3 separate regions of the Homo sapiens genome follow, and regions 1 and 2 are each linked to region 3. The links are contacts of gene promoters, found by promoter capture Hi-C in human tissues and cell types (Jung and others, 2019). All regions are on one chromosome and are shown on one strand. The core of a region is centred on a gene start or on the middle of the fragment in contact, and the rest is flanking DNA. Distances in the headings are between cores, read along the strand shown. Region 1 overlaps PIEZO2 (piezo type mechanosensitive ion channel component 2). Region 2 has its middle 42 kb from the start of PIEZO2. Region 3 holds the start of PIEZO2 (piezo type mechanosensitive ion channel component 2).

Evidence for each region. The method cuts DNA at HindIII sites, captures the fragments that hold promoters and counts their contacts. A contact is called where the count stands out against the background at its distance.
Region 1: a fragment that was not itself captured here is called in contact with the fragment with the promoter of PIEZO2 in region 3 in 3 of the 25 tissues and cell types used here (IMR-90 fibroblasts, hippocampus and lymphoblastoid cells).
Region 2: a fragment that was not itself captured here is called in contact with the fragment with the promoter of PIEZO2 in region 3 in 3 of the 25 tissues and cell types used here (dorsolateral prefrontal cortex, ovary and spleen).

Annotation. Positions count from the first base shown.
Region 1 is chr18:11,111,024-11,115,217 of GRCh38, forward strand. The region is part of intron 1 of PIEZO2 (piezo type mechanosensitive ion channel component 2); the gene reads right to left. Among named protein-coding and RNA genes, the nearest start is that of PIEZO2, 36 kb to the right of the region's middle. The HindIII fragment of the contact is 4,299 bases long and covers 1-4,062 here.
Region 2 is chr18:11,189,776-11,193,683 of GRCh38, forward strand. No RefSeq gene overlaps it. Among named protein-coding and RNA genes, the nearest start is that of PIEZO2, 42 kb to the left of the region's middle. The HindIII fragment of the contact is 4,777 bases long and covers 1-3,908 here.
Region 3 is chr18:11,147,174-11,151,036 of GRCh38, forward strand. PIEZO2 (piezo type mechanosensitive ion channel component 2) reads right to left here and starts at 2,396. Exons shown (of 56, transcript NM_001378183.1): 1 at 1,352-2,396. The coding sequence starts at 1,415. It overlaps LOC124904249 (a long non-coding RNA gene), which reads right to left and starts at 1,343. Exons shown (of 2, transcript XR_007066288.1): 1 at 1-1,343. RefSeq lists enhancers at 889-938, 967-1,805 and silencers at 1,499-1,568, 1,579-1,758, 1,779-2,058, 2,299-2,748. The HindIII fragment of the contact is 6,242 bases long and covers 1-3,863 here.

The sequences.
Region 1 (4,194 bases), core at 663-3,162, 37 kb before region 3:
AGCTGCAAATGGACGTCCGGGCAGACAGGGCAGAGGACAGACAGGGAGCCTCCCCAAGCACTAGGGAGGTGCCTGCCTCAGTGCCTACAGATGCTTCTTCAGGCCCAGGAGCAGGAGCACTGGGGCTGCCAGCTGCCACAGCCAGCCTGGGAGTGTCAGAGGGCTCTGACGCCAGCCCAGGACTCTGGCCGCACCTGGGTCCCCCAGATGGAGATCTCTGGGGTCTGTGAGAACTTCCCTGGCCTTCGTTTCCCATCCCTTTCAACAGTGGTATAGCCTGCAATCTCCTCTATTTAAACCCTCTATACATGGATTATCTACAGTGGCTTCTGTTTTCCTAACCAAGTCCTGAACCAATGTAAGACTTTTCATAAAAACCTAGATTTCCAATTTCTTTTTAAAAAATTATACCATCTGGCAAAACTAGGCTCACGTGGCACGTGGCAACAATAGGCTGCCCCTTCTGGAGAAGCATGCACCACCCAGTGGCCAGGGCCCTCCAAATCTGTGATGCCGTGGCCATTCTCTATACCACCTTCAGGGCCCGCCCTGCCTGGGACCCTGTAGGGACTTTAACTCAAGAGTCTTGATCCAGTTCTTCTCCTGCCACCCCCAACTTCCTCTCTCCTGTGCTCACATGACATCCAATCCCCACTTAATTGAAGTCGACAAGGCTTCTTGAACTGACACCGTCACACCCTCGGGGAATCCGTAGCCAGGCACCAGTCTGCACCGAAAGCGTGCACAGTAGAAACCTGGCTCCTTCCAGGAGGCTCCTTGTAGGTTAAATTATTCTTGATGAGAAGCAACTTAAATATTACTTTTAGATGTAAACAACCATGGATAGATTATAAAGTCAAATAACAATGTGTCTCTTTTAAGATAAAACACAAGATCTCAAAGAAACGATCTTCTGCAGGCCACTTCATGAGTCCCCTTGAATCCTCTGAGGTTCTGACTTAAGAGGGAAAATGGTAGGGGAGCCGTGAATGAAGTTTCATAGTCCTTTATATTAATAAAGAACTTCACAGCTGAAAGGATTTTAAGACTTTTTAGAATGATTAAACTTTAAAGATGGAGTTTCTAGGTTTCTGATGAATTCCTATGAATACAAAATAACCAGATACTCATATTTATGTATGTATTTCTAATTTAAGTAATCCTCTAGGTATTTTGTATCTACAGGATCAGATATTCGGATATTTGTAAAGATAACGGTGACTTTTCAAGTTCTGAATACCAACTGAGGTTTTTTGTTTGGTATCAGGAAGGTCATTTGAGTTTAAAATAAAAACAGTTATTTGAGATATTCTGATCCACCCATTTAAGTAAAGGCCTGGTCCAGTCATTCTGAGAACAACCCTTCAACGCTTTAATTAAAGAGGCCTACAACATCAGAATCTAAGTGTCATGACCAAAATATGTACTCCAACTCCATCATTTATTTACATGGAACTACTGAGAGTCAAGTCTCCAAATTTTACACTGACTGATGAGTCTTCTGTACATCAACAAAGTTAACACAGATTGGCCTTGGAGCAGCTATCGAAACCACATAAACATTGCATACTAGTCAGAGGCTCACCAGGGTTGTAAAGAAGACTTACACACTTAGTCGTAAGTCAACAATTGCCAGATTAGGCACAGAAACAAACCTATATAACTTTCTGAAAATAATGCAAGTGACACCTGGTGTTCTACTGTCTATTGAGAAATGCATAATGCCACAGGACTGAACTGAAAATGTGGGCTCCTTCTCTCCATCTGCAGTTAGGTCACCGACAAGAGGAAGAGGCGCTATGGAGAAGAAGGAGCAAGCCAGTCTGTGCAGAATTCAAATATCCTGATCCTCAGGTTCTCTCAAACAGTCTCTGGGCCCATCTAAGACTGCCTCCCAGGGTTTTCTCAGGTTCAAGCTGCTCTCTAGATTCAGACCTACAGGATAAAGGTCCTGGTGTGTTTATTATTTTGGTACCTAACTCAGTGCCCAGCACGATGTAGGCCTTCAAGAACTGTGGACTTGAACTGGCTGATTGACTCATGAAATCCCAGAAACAGACCTTTGGTATAAAGGGGCAATGTTGAACTTGACCTGGGCTTTATGCTCCTGGAAAACAGCAACAGTTAACATCTTCTCCCACCCCAGCCCCTGAAACCCTTTTGTCTTCCAGGAAACTGCTGACTGCAAAGAACTTGTCTTCCCTGTGTGACTTAGATGGGACTCACAGATGCACACCGTATTTACCTCCAAGGCCAGACACAGGCCTTCCATGTACTCAATCTTTATCTCATAAATTATTAGCCAAACTGTTTGTTTCCATTGACCAACCTGGACAAAATACCCACTAACAACTTGACCAAACTTTAATCAGGACCTTGACTCCCCCTTGAGCAAATAACAGGACAGCCCTCCTAAAGGGCCTCCTAAGGATCCACAGACCTCAGGGAAAACCCTCCGGATATGCGGATTCACTGTCCCATCCTTCTTCCTGCTCTGCCCACCCTCACGGCCTTGTTCACTCCTGCAATCCTCCGTATAACAGAAAAGCCCTTTCTTACAGACCTGGGAGGCCCTCGCAGGTATCATGGTCACATGATACCCTTACCTCTACCACAATAGTCTTTTCAGATGAAGATTCTCCTTACCTGAGTCTGAATTCATTTTTTATTTGACAAAAGGAACTACTCAAATATTAGCAAGTAAGTCATCCCCTTAGCACATTCTCTGTGACAACGCAGGCCTTCCTGGCCACCGCCCTCCAAACTGCCCCCGAGGAGTGACAAGAAAGAAAGATCAGAAGTGGAGGATGTCCACCTTCGTGTCCTTTCTTGGTGTGTTCTCAACCACATAATCCTTTCAGATGTAATTTTTTAGCATTGTCCTCTTTTAATATTTATCACAGCACTACCTTGACTGTGATGAAATATTCATGTAATTTCAATAGCTACGGCAAAGCCAAGTCTATGACAACGTTGTTGATGAACAGTGGAGTTCACTACATTAATGTAATGGATGCACTAAGTAATCAAATATCATTCCATGTTGATAATCTTCAAAAACTATATGCCTCTTATAATAAGTCATTACACTAGTCTGGTTGCATTACATAACCTTAAAGTAAACACATTAAATGTTTAGATTAAGGGAGATGCTATCACTCATGTAATGGTGCCTCTCTGCACAAGTTCCAAATTTTTGAATCTGACACTCAAGACTCTCAGAAACCTCCTCTCAAATGACTTTTCAAGCTTATCTACCTAGGACACTGTTTGTCTTACAATAGAGCTCTTTACAATGACAAGAAAGAGGCATGTACAACTGTCTTCACTAATAAAGGATTTTCTAAAGTTAGCAGAGACGGCCAAACGTGGTGGCTCACGCCTGTAATCCCAGCACTTTGGGAGGCCGAGGCAGGAGGATCACTTGAGGTCAGGAGTTCAAGACCAGCCTGGCCAACATGGCAAAACGTCATCTCTACTAAAAATACAAAAACTAGCTGGTGTGGTGGTGTGCACCTGTAATCCCAGCTACTTGGGAGACTGAGGTAAGAGAATTGCTTGAACCTGGGAGGTGGAGGTTGCAGTGAGCTGAGATCGTGCCACTGCACTCCAGCCTGGGCAACAGAGGGAGACTCTGTCTTAAACAAAAAAAAAAAGGCAGTTGGGGTGCTTTTCCCCCCACATATTTGAAAAGAGAGCTAGTGCCAACAGATAGACTGCAGTTAACAGGACGGGATAGAGAAAATTTTCACAGATTGTCAGGAATTACCACCAAGAGTAAGATAAGGCTGGAGGGCTTCTGAATCATCAAATAAACACACAGAAGCTCACTGGCCGTTTCTGAATGTCAATACTTCCACTGACTTAGCTCTTAAATCAGATAACTAACAACAGAGGAGCAATTTGTTTGACTTTGAACTAAATAGGCAAGCAGTGTTGATATCATCTAAATCTGGTTATAAGTAAGGACAATGTGAACATTCCTAAGTACTAAGATCCTCTTCTTTTATCCTGTCTCTCCCCAGATATAATGTTTTCCAGGTTGCTCTATTGTCTTCTATGTAATATTAAAGGGCTTCAAAGTTTATGGTACATTCAGACTTAGCTATTCAGGATTGACAGTTTGGTTATAGACAGTTAAATGAGTATTCATCAAACATGGAATTCAGAAACAAATACTCCTATATTAAGTGT
Region 2 (3,908 bases), core at 515-3,014, 42 kb after region 3:
ATTGAGTTGCTCACTGTTTGCCATAGGGAGTGGCTCTTTTTCTACAAAACAACACACAGAGAATTTGGCAATTATCGAACTTCATCTAAGCCTGTAAGATTTGACTTTATTCCTACTTGGAAATGAGGAGGAAAATTGGGTCAGAAAAAAAGGGATTTTACAGGTATTAGGGAGCTCAAGTTTACTTAGTATGGCAAAGTTCAAAATATAGCAGGGACATGATAGAATACTTTTCAGTTTCTAACCAGAAAGGACATCATTTAGTGGAAGAAAATCCAGCTATTTCATAGCGAATGATAAATTGGCAAAATCACTAGCTTTGCTCTTATACAGCATTAGCAATGATGGCAGATAATTTTGGCTTGTCAAGTTTCTGCTTTTCGTCATGTTCATGTGAGAAAAAGGTTTTAAGCTTAAAATGTCACAGTATAGTAATATTTATTTATATCAATTTTTATTCCAAAATAATTTGTGGTAACTCAATGTCATAATTTTAAGGATTTAGTAAATCCACTAAGCATAATTTTAGAAGACTCTCTGAAAGGGCTTCATCTTTTTTCCTCAAGGCCCACAAATCTTCACAAGGGCTTATCTTTTAAGAATGCATTTAGAATTCTTTCTCATTCTACACACCCATGAATCACATCGGAATATCACAGTGGAACTTCGTGTTCTCTAAACTTTTTCTTTTTTTAAAAAAACTCATATTTTGATAAATTAAGATTAGATTAGTGAGATTTGACTATGGCCAGAGGAAGACTACATTTGTAATTAATACATTACTGAAACAAAATGGGTGTCTATATCAGAGGGTAGGAATGGAAGAATACCATGGGTGCGACTCTTTTTATCCTAAATGGTGATCTTCTATAATCAAACCAGTAGAGAACACAAGTTTAAGCATTTTAAATAAGAAAAAACTCCTTGGCCATACAGGGGCAGTTTCTACCAACAGATTTATAGCTTCCACAAAAAATAAATATTAGAGATTATTCGTTGAGGTTATACCATGTTTCCAGCACTATGCATTCCTTCTGCTGGGGCAGCAAAGTGTCGTCTTTCAAAGGATTATTCCACTGATGAAAAGAAAATGTTTACTATATGTATATATATAATATGATTATGTATGTATACATATACACATGTGTGTATATATTTGATAATTTGATGGTTACTTTTCTCTCTTGGAAGTTAACCTATAAAGTGTGTTATGCTATACATGCACACAGACACAGACACACACACACACCACACACACACACACACACACACACACAACTTCATAATTGCTCTAGATACCCGAATTCAAGCAAGAAAGTAAGAAAAATAGTGATGACTTTAGATTTGCCTTTGGGAAAAACATACCATATGTTTATAAAAAAGGTCCAAACTGCTGGCAGATTTAAGGAGGGAAAGAGAGTTGACTTTTTTGCCTGTCCATGTGCAAATCCTCTTGGCAGTTTGGGAGATGGGGCAGGAACTGAACTGAGGTCTGAGGGATCCCCGAGTTCTTGCTGCCCAGGCACCTCAGCTCAGGAGGACTGTGTGTTTAAAGGGAAGAGAGAATCATTGGGAGGGCCATCATCCTTGAGACTGAAAATGCAGGCTCTGTAGGAAGTCCTAAGCTATTTAGGAAAATAGTCAGGAGGCTTGTTTCCCATGCAACATCTACTTTTAAAATGTTTGCTTTGAAAACGTAATTATAAAAGAAAGCCACTGCTTAGCTCATCTTTCTTGGGAGGAAAGAATATTACATTATAAGATCAAGAAAATAAAGAGGCTTTTAGTGTTAGAACTCACAAGTTCAGTTTCAGTAATTCTAGGCGGTTAAAGGGATAAAAAAGCCAAATAGGAGCCTTGTCAGCAATCGTGAATACTCTGCATAAAGCTAAAGAAAATGCTTTGCAGCTGCTGTCAATTGTTTAAGGAAGATTTCATAGCAACTTTAGAACTCTCAAGCCTCGGCAGTACTGGCTTGTCCGAAAAGTTTGTCTATAAATTTCTGTAGACTGTTAATCAGTGTTATCGGAAGTTCTGTACCCATTATGCCCAGGGTGCCATAAAGTTAGTTTTATGGTCACTTAATTTTAAAGAGCATATGATTGATCTGAAACCTCCAAATTGAATATATACATGGTAAACATCTCTAAATAGAGATCATTTTTAAATACATTTCTATAATTACTATATATATATAATAATTTTGATGGGTAAAATAATTTTTAAAACATTATTTTGCCAAAATTTATGCTATATCTCAATTTTGTTTCATAACTGTTCCCTGAGCATGAACAATTCTAATGGGGATTGTATTAAAAATAAGTGTCTTTGTTTTGGGAAGATTCCACCTTGGTATGTAATGGACAATCACGGCAAGTGTCTTTTGTGGGAACTTCCTATGTGTGGAGGGATGTTTAAGAAGCAGCTACATGGACACACCTCAGACTCTTATTCCCCAGAAGCTTTGCTCTTTGGGTGGCCCAAGCTCCCTGAAACAGTCATCCCATAACTGACCACAGAAACCCTCCGTAAATTTCATACCATCTCACCCTTCTTTTAGTATCAGGCCAGAAACAGCCTGAGACCTTGAGTCATTCCTGTCCCCAAAGAATCCTGGGCTTACAGTTAAGGTATCTAAAGTCAGCCACTTCTTGGGCTTCTCACCCACCCACTCACCCCCATCCTTTCCAGACCCTCATCCCCCACCTACTGCACTGTCCTGGGTTTACATGTTCGAACTCCCATTCCTCTCACATCTTTCCAGTTTCATTCTGGAGCTGTCGATGTAAGCCAACTCCCCAACCACGTTATGGTTTTCAGGAAATCCCTTCCCATTCACTTGCCTTATCCACTTGAACCACAGTACAGTGGGTGCAGAATGTTTTCCTGCCTCCATACTGCTATATCTAGGCTAGTACTCTTTCACTTCCAGGTAGTCATTAACACTCATTTGAGTTAATGAATTTTGTTTTATGTCCCAGGATATAGGCTATCCTGATGAATGTGTCATGGATGCTTTAAAAATGTACATTCTGTTGTTTTGCAGTGGCATGTTTCTCTATACATGTTATTTAGATCCAGTTGGTTGATTGTATTTGCTTATTACAGGTAGCATGCTGTATCTTTTTCCTTCCTTTTTTTTTTTTTTTTTTTTTTGAGATGGAGTCTCGCTCTGTCACCCAGGCTGGAGTGCAGTGGCAGGATCTCGGCTCACTGCAAGCTCTGCCTCCCGGGTTCACGCCATCCTCCTGCCTCAGCCTCCCGAGTAGCTGGGACTACAGGCGCCCGCCACCACGCCCGGCTAATTTTTTTTTTATTGTATTTTTAGTAGAGACGGGGTTTCACCGTGTTAGCCAGGATGGTCTCGATTTCCTGACCTCGTGATCCGCCCGTCTCGGTCTCCCGAAGTGCTGGGATTACAGGCGTGAACCACCGCGCCTGGCCCCTTCCCTTTACTTTGTACCTACCTATGTTGTTGTATTTGAAGTGACTTCAGTGCACACAGCATATTACTTGGTCATGGGATGTTTTAATGTACTCTGCCAATCTCTGTATTAAATTGGTGTGTTTAGCCAATTTATTCTTAAACTAATTATGGATATGTTAAGGCTTATGGCTGCTATTTATGTTTTCTGTTTGTTTCTCTGTTTTCGGTTCCTGTGTTTCTCTTTTCCTGTCTTCCTGTGTGCTACTTGAACATTTTGAAGGATTCTATTGTGTTTTCTTTATGCCGATTTTGAGCATATCGCTTTGTATAATTTTCTTAGCAGTTTCTCTAGGTATCACAATATACACATAGAACTTATCATAGCCTATAGGTATTAATGTTTTACCACTTTGAATAAAGTGTTGAACCTTTACTTCCATTTGTTGCCTTTGCTTTCCCCACTTTTAAAATATGTCTCAGG
Region 3 (3,863 bases), core at 1,146-3,645:
TGGAAGCTTAGCTCTTCATCTATGCGAGTGAGACTAGACCCCTGCAAAATGGAAACTCAAACTGCAAAGTAGAGAACGAGGCCAGCATCCACCCGTGGGTCCCTCCTGCTGCCCCGGGACCCCGCCTGGCCACACCTTCCCTCCACTCGGAGCGCCTTTCTGGGTTTTCCGCTGAGGTTTGTTGAAAAGACGCCTCCCAGACTCTTCACTCACGAAGTGTGTTACAAAAACTCTCCCGGCAACTGTCCTGACCCTCACCAATCACGCTACAGCCCCCATTCGATTGCTTGCACAAAGAAAACATTTAACACAGGTGTGATCAACCTCGGTCAAGATGCAGAGTCATCAACCTCGGTCAAGATGCAAAAAGGTGGCCTTTTCTGCGAAGGCCACGCCCTCTGTAAATACAGTTACTACTTGGTGAAAAGCGCTCTACTTCCTAGCTCTTGTTGGTGAGAGGGAGAGCAAAGAACCAGGGCCCGGCATTCTTACGAGAGGAATTCAATGTCACAGGCACTGCCTGTTTGAGGAGAAGATCAGAAACGGTCCGACTCCCAGAACGCAGCACCCAGTTGCTTTGCACGCCAGGCCAGTCCTGGGGAAACGGTGCAACGCTTGTCTGGGCGTCGAGGAGGCTCCCTTGCGGTCCTCCCTGGGCCCTTGCCAGTCCCAAGGAGTTCCAACCCTGCTTTCTAACCCTTTAAAATCTGGAGAGGGCGGCCGCTGGGAGGCGGGACTAGGTGTTGGGGGTCTATAGCCTTAGCATCCAGTACTTTTGTAGTAGGGGCTTTTGTGGAGGTTTTAAAAAATAAGTAAGAAACGTCAAGGCACTGTCTCCCTGTACCTCGTCCCTCTTTTTCTTTTTTGAATGACCGGAGTCCTTCACTTCTTCCTTCACGGTTGCTGGGATTTGGGGTCTGGGAGAGATGGCCTCTGGGCCGTCTGGAGGCACAGCATGCTGTGCTTGCAGGGTCACTGGGGCGAGGGGCTCAGGTAGGAGCCTGACTGTACCTACGATGGGGACGCATCCGCCTTCCAGCCACAGCAATGGCCATCCTTAGTACACAAGTCAGTACTCCACGAAAGAAAATCCACGTGTAACTAAATTCAACATAAACAGTTTCCAGCACATGCCCGTCCCGAGCATCCTGTTAAGAGATACCCCGATCGCGCGCCCCAGAGTGGGAAGTGAGAGAGCCAGGCTGTGCACCAGGGACAGCGCGCGTCTGACGCCGCTGGCCTCCCGAATCGAACCCCAGAGCACCAGAGCCCTTCACTTTGTTAAGAAGTCCCCCACCCAGGCGCCCCCCTCGTCCTCCTCAAGTGCCCTCGGAAAGCGGACCAGACTCACCTACTGCCAGGCAGATGGGCAGCAGCAGCCTGAAGATGAGCCCGCACACCACTTCTGAGGCCATCGCGTCGGTCCGGCGAGTCGGAGCAGAGGGGCGAGGCTCGAGGGTCCCTAGGGGTGGTGGGACGCAAGGCCCATGCCCGTCTATGGCCTCTCGCCGCCGGCAGCTCGCAGCCACCCGAGCATCGCCTCGGCGCGGGCCGCGACGCTCTCCGCCCCGAGGGCACGCTCCCGGGGCTCTTGGCCGCCCCTCGCCCACCGGGCTCTGGGTAGCCCCTCACCAGGCTCTTGGCGGCCACCTAGCCCGGCGCCCGGCCCCCTGCGGCCGGCCCATTTAGTGTGAATCCTGGATCCGGCAGCGGCGGCGGCTTCTTCAGGGGTAGCTGATGCCGGGGCCTTGGAGAGGGACGCTTTGGGAGGGTCCTGGGAGGCGGCGCGGCGAGCAAAGGGGGCAAGAAGGGCGTGCTGTGCTCCCGCCTGGCTCCCGGGGCGTCGTTTGGGGGCGGCCGGGGAGTTTTCTACTTGGAAGCCCCTCTGAAGCCACCGCGTCTCCTTTGCCCGGCCTCGTCTCCGCTGCCCACGCAGGCTGCCGCGCTCTGGCCTCGGCCCCGGCTCTCGGAGCTGCCCGGCGGGCTCCGGGTCTCGCCCTCCAGCCCCCAGGCGGCCCGCGGCGGATCCCCGAGAGGCAGCGCAGCTCAGCCCCTGCGCCCCCCAGCTTCGGGCCGGAGAGACCGGGGTGGGAGCTGCCAGGCGCGCAGAACCATCCCCGCCACCACGGGGCTCGCCTTGTGGGTCCGGTGCGCGGGCGGCGCTGCGAGTCCCTCCCTCACTCGAAGGAACGGCGCGAGCGTGGGGAGAAATGGAGACCAGAGCGCATATCGGGTGAGTGGGTCTCCCACTCCCTCCTCCACCGCCTCAATTTAAAACTCAAGAGAAAAACCAGCGCCGTCCCGTCGCCCAGCGCGACCACCGCCTGCCGCCTTGCAGCCTCGCCCTCGCGGCGCAGCCGGGGCTCCCCGGCGGCGCGCGCTTCTCCACCTTCAATGAAACTTTCGAAGCCCTCACTCGGGGACGGGCGTGTCCCCCGGCCAATGGGATGGCGGCTCCGGGGCCTGCGCGCGCGGAGCCCGCCCCTGAGCGGCTGGGGAAGTGAGAGCCTTGCACCGGCGCGGAGGGCAAGCCCCCACCCGCGGCTCCCGCGCCTGGGAGAGACCCGGCCTGGCCTGCCAGTGGGCTGCGCGCCTTGGCTCGCCCTCCGCGGGCACTCCTGCCCCACTGGCTCCCGCAGCCCCGCGGCTCTGCGTGGTTCTGTCATTCCGGTGGTGCACCCTGGCATCCAGTCCACCCGGCCGGGCCCTGAGCTTGCCCAAACCCAGGGAACCGTTTAAGGTCCGAGGGAAACGCACAGGCCCGGCAGGAGAGAAGCCAGGGGCTTGGAGAGTCCTGTGCGACCCCGACTTCTGCTGGGTCCACAGGTGCACACTGGCATTAAGAAGAATAGAGCTGAATTCATCTACACCGTTGACCCTGCCCATATTTCACATAGCAAGAACTTGCCATTCTGAATAGACTCTGGGAAATCCCGGGTCTTCCCCAACAGATAATGCACCCACTTTGTGCATTTGGGGGAACTCTCCGTTTTCACCTCAGTTTTGCTCCTTGCTTGTCGTGGCTCTGGGGAAAGAGAGCGTTGGCACTGAGAATATTCTCCCTTTCTCCTAGTGCACTGCTTTTTGCCTGTTCTAGGCAAGATCTAGAGAAATCTGGCTCTAGCTGGGAGACTGCAGTGTGCCTGGGTCTTTTATTTAACTGTTATCCGAGAGTGGAGGAGATTTGCTAGAGCACAGTAGGGGTCTTTCCGGACATGGAGGAAGAGGCTGTTAGCATCTGTAGAGAGGACTGTTCAGGACTGGCATTCCATCAGGAGGACACACTGGGAAGGACCTGGCTTCCCTTCCGCACCTACATTCCTGGCTTGCATTAGTTGGAGGGGATAGAGCAGTGAGCTGATGAAAAACAGGCAAACCCCCGTCTTTTTAGCCATTTGAAACGCTTTTGTGGACATCCCTTTTTTGAGACAGGGTAAGCTTGTGGTTTGAGCTCAGGTGCCTTCACGAATTCTCTGAGAATTACAGAAAAACTATGAACCATTGCTTTTTGAATGAAGACTCAAGACAGTTGGCATATGGTGAAGACACCCTGAAACTTAAACCACCCATGTGCTCTGCCATCCTCAAGAAGCTTAGATAGCACCTAAACCCGGGCGTAGTCATGAGCTCAACAGCAGACCTACAGGAGACGATAGAACTTAAATTAGCATCCAGTCACCAAGAAATGCTATCAAGAAATGGTTTGTGTAGCCTGTTTGTAGAAGCCTGATATAAATCTACCACTAATTTTGATGTTCATAAGTCTGCCTTCACATCCATGCCCTCCCCACCTCACCCCATGTACGACTCATTCTTGGGAGCTAATAGGTGAAGGACTCCTGAATTTTAAATAATACTGTGTC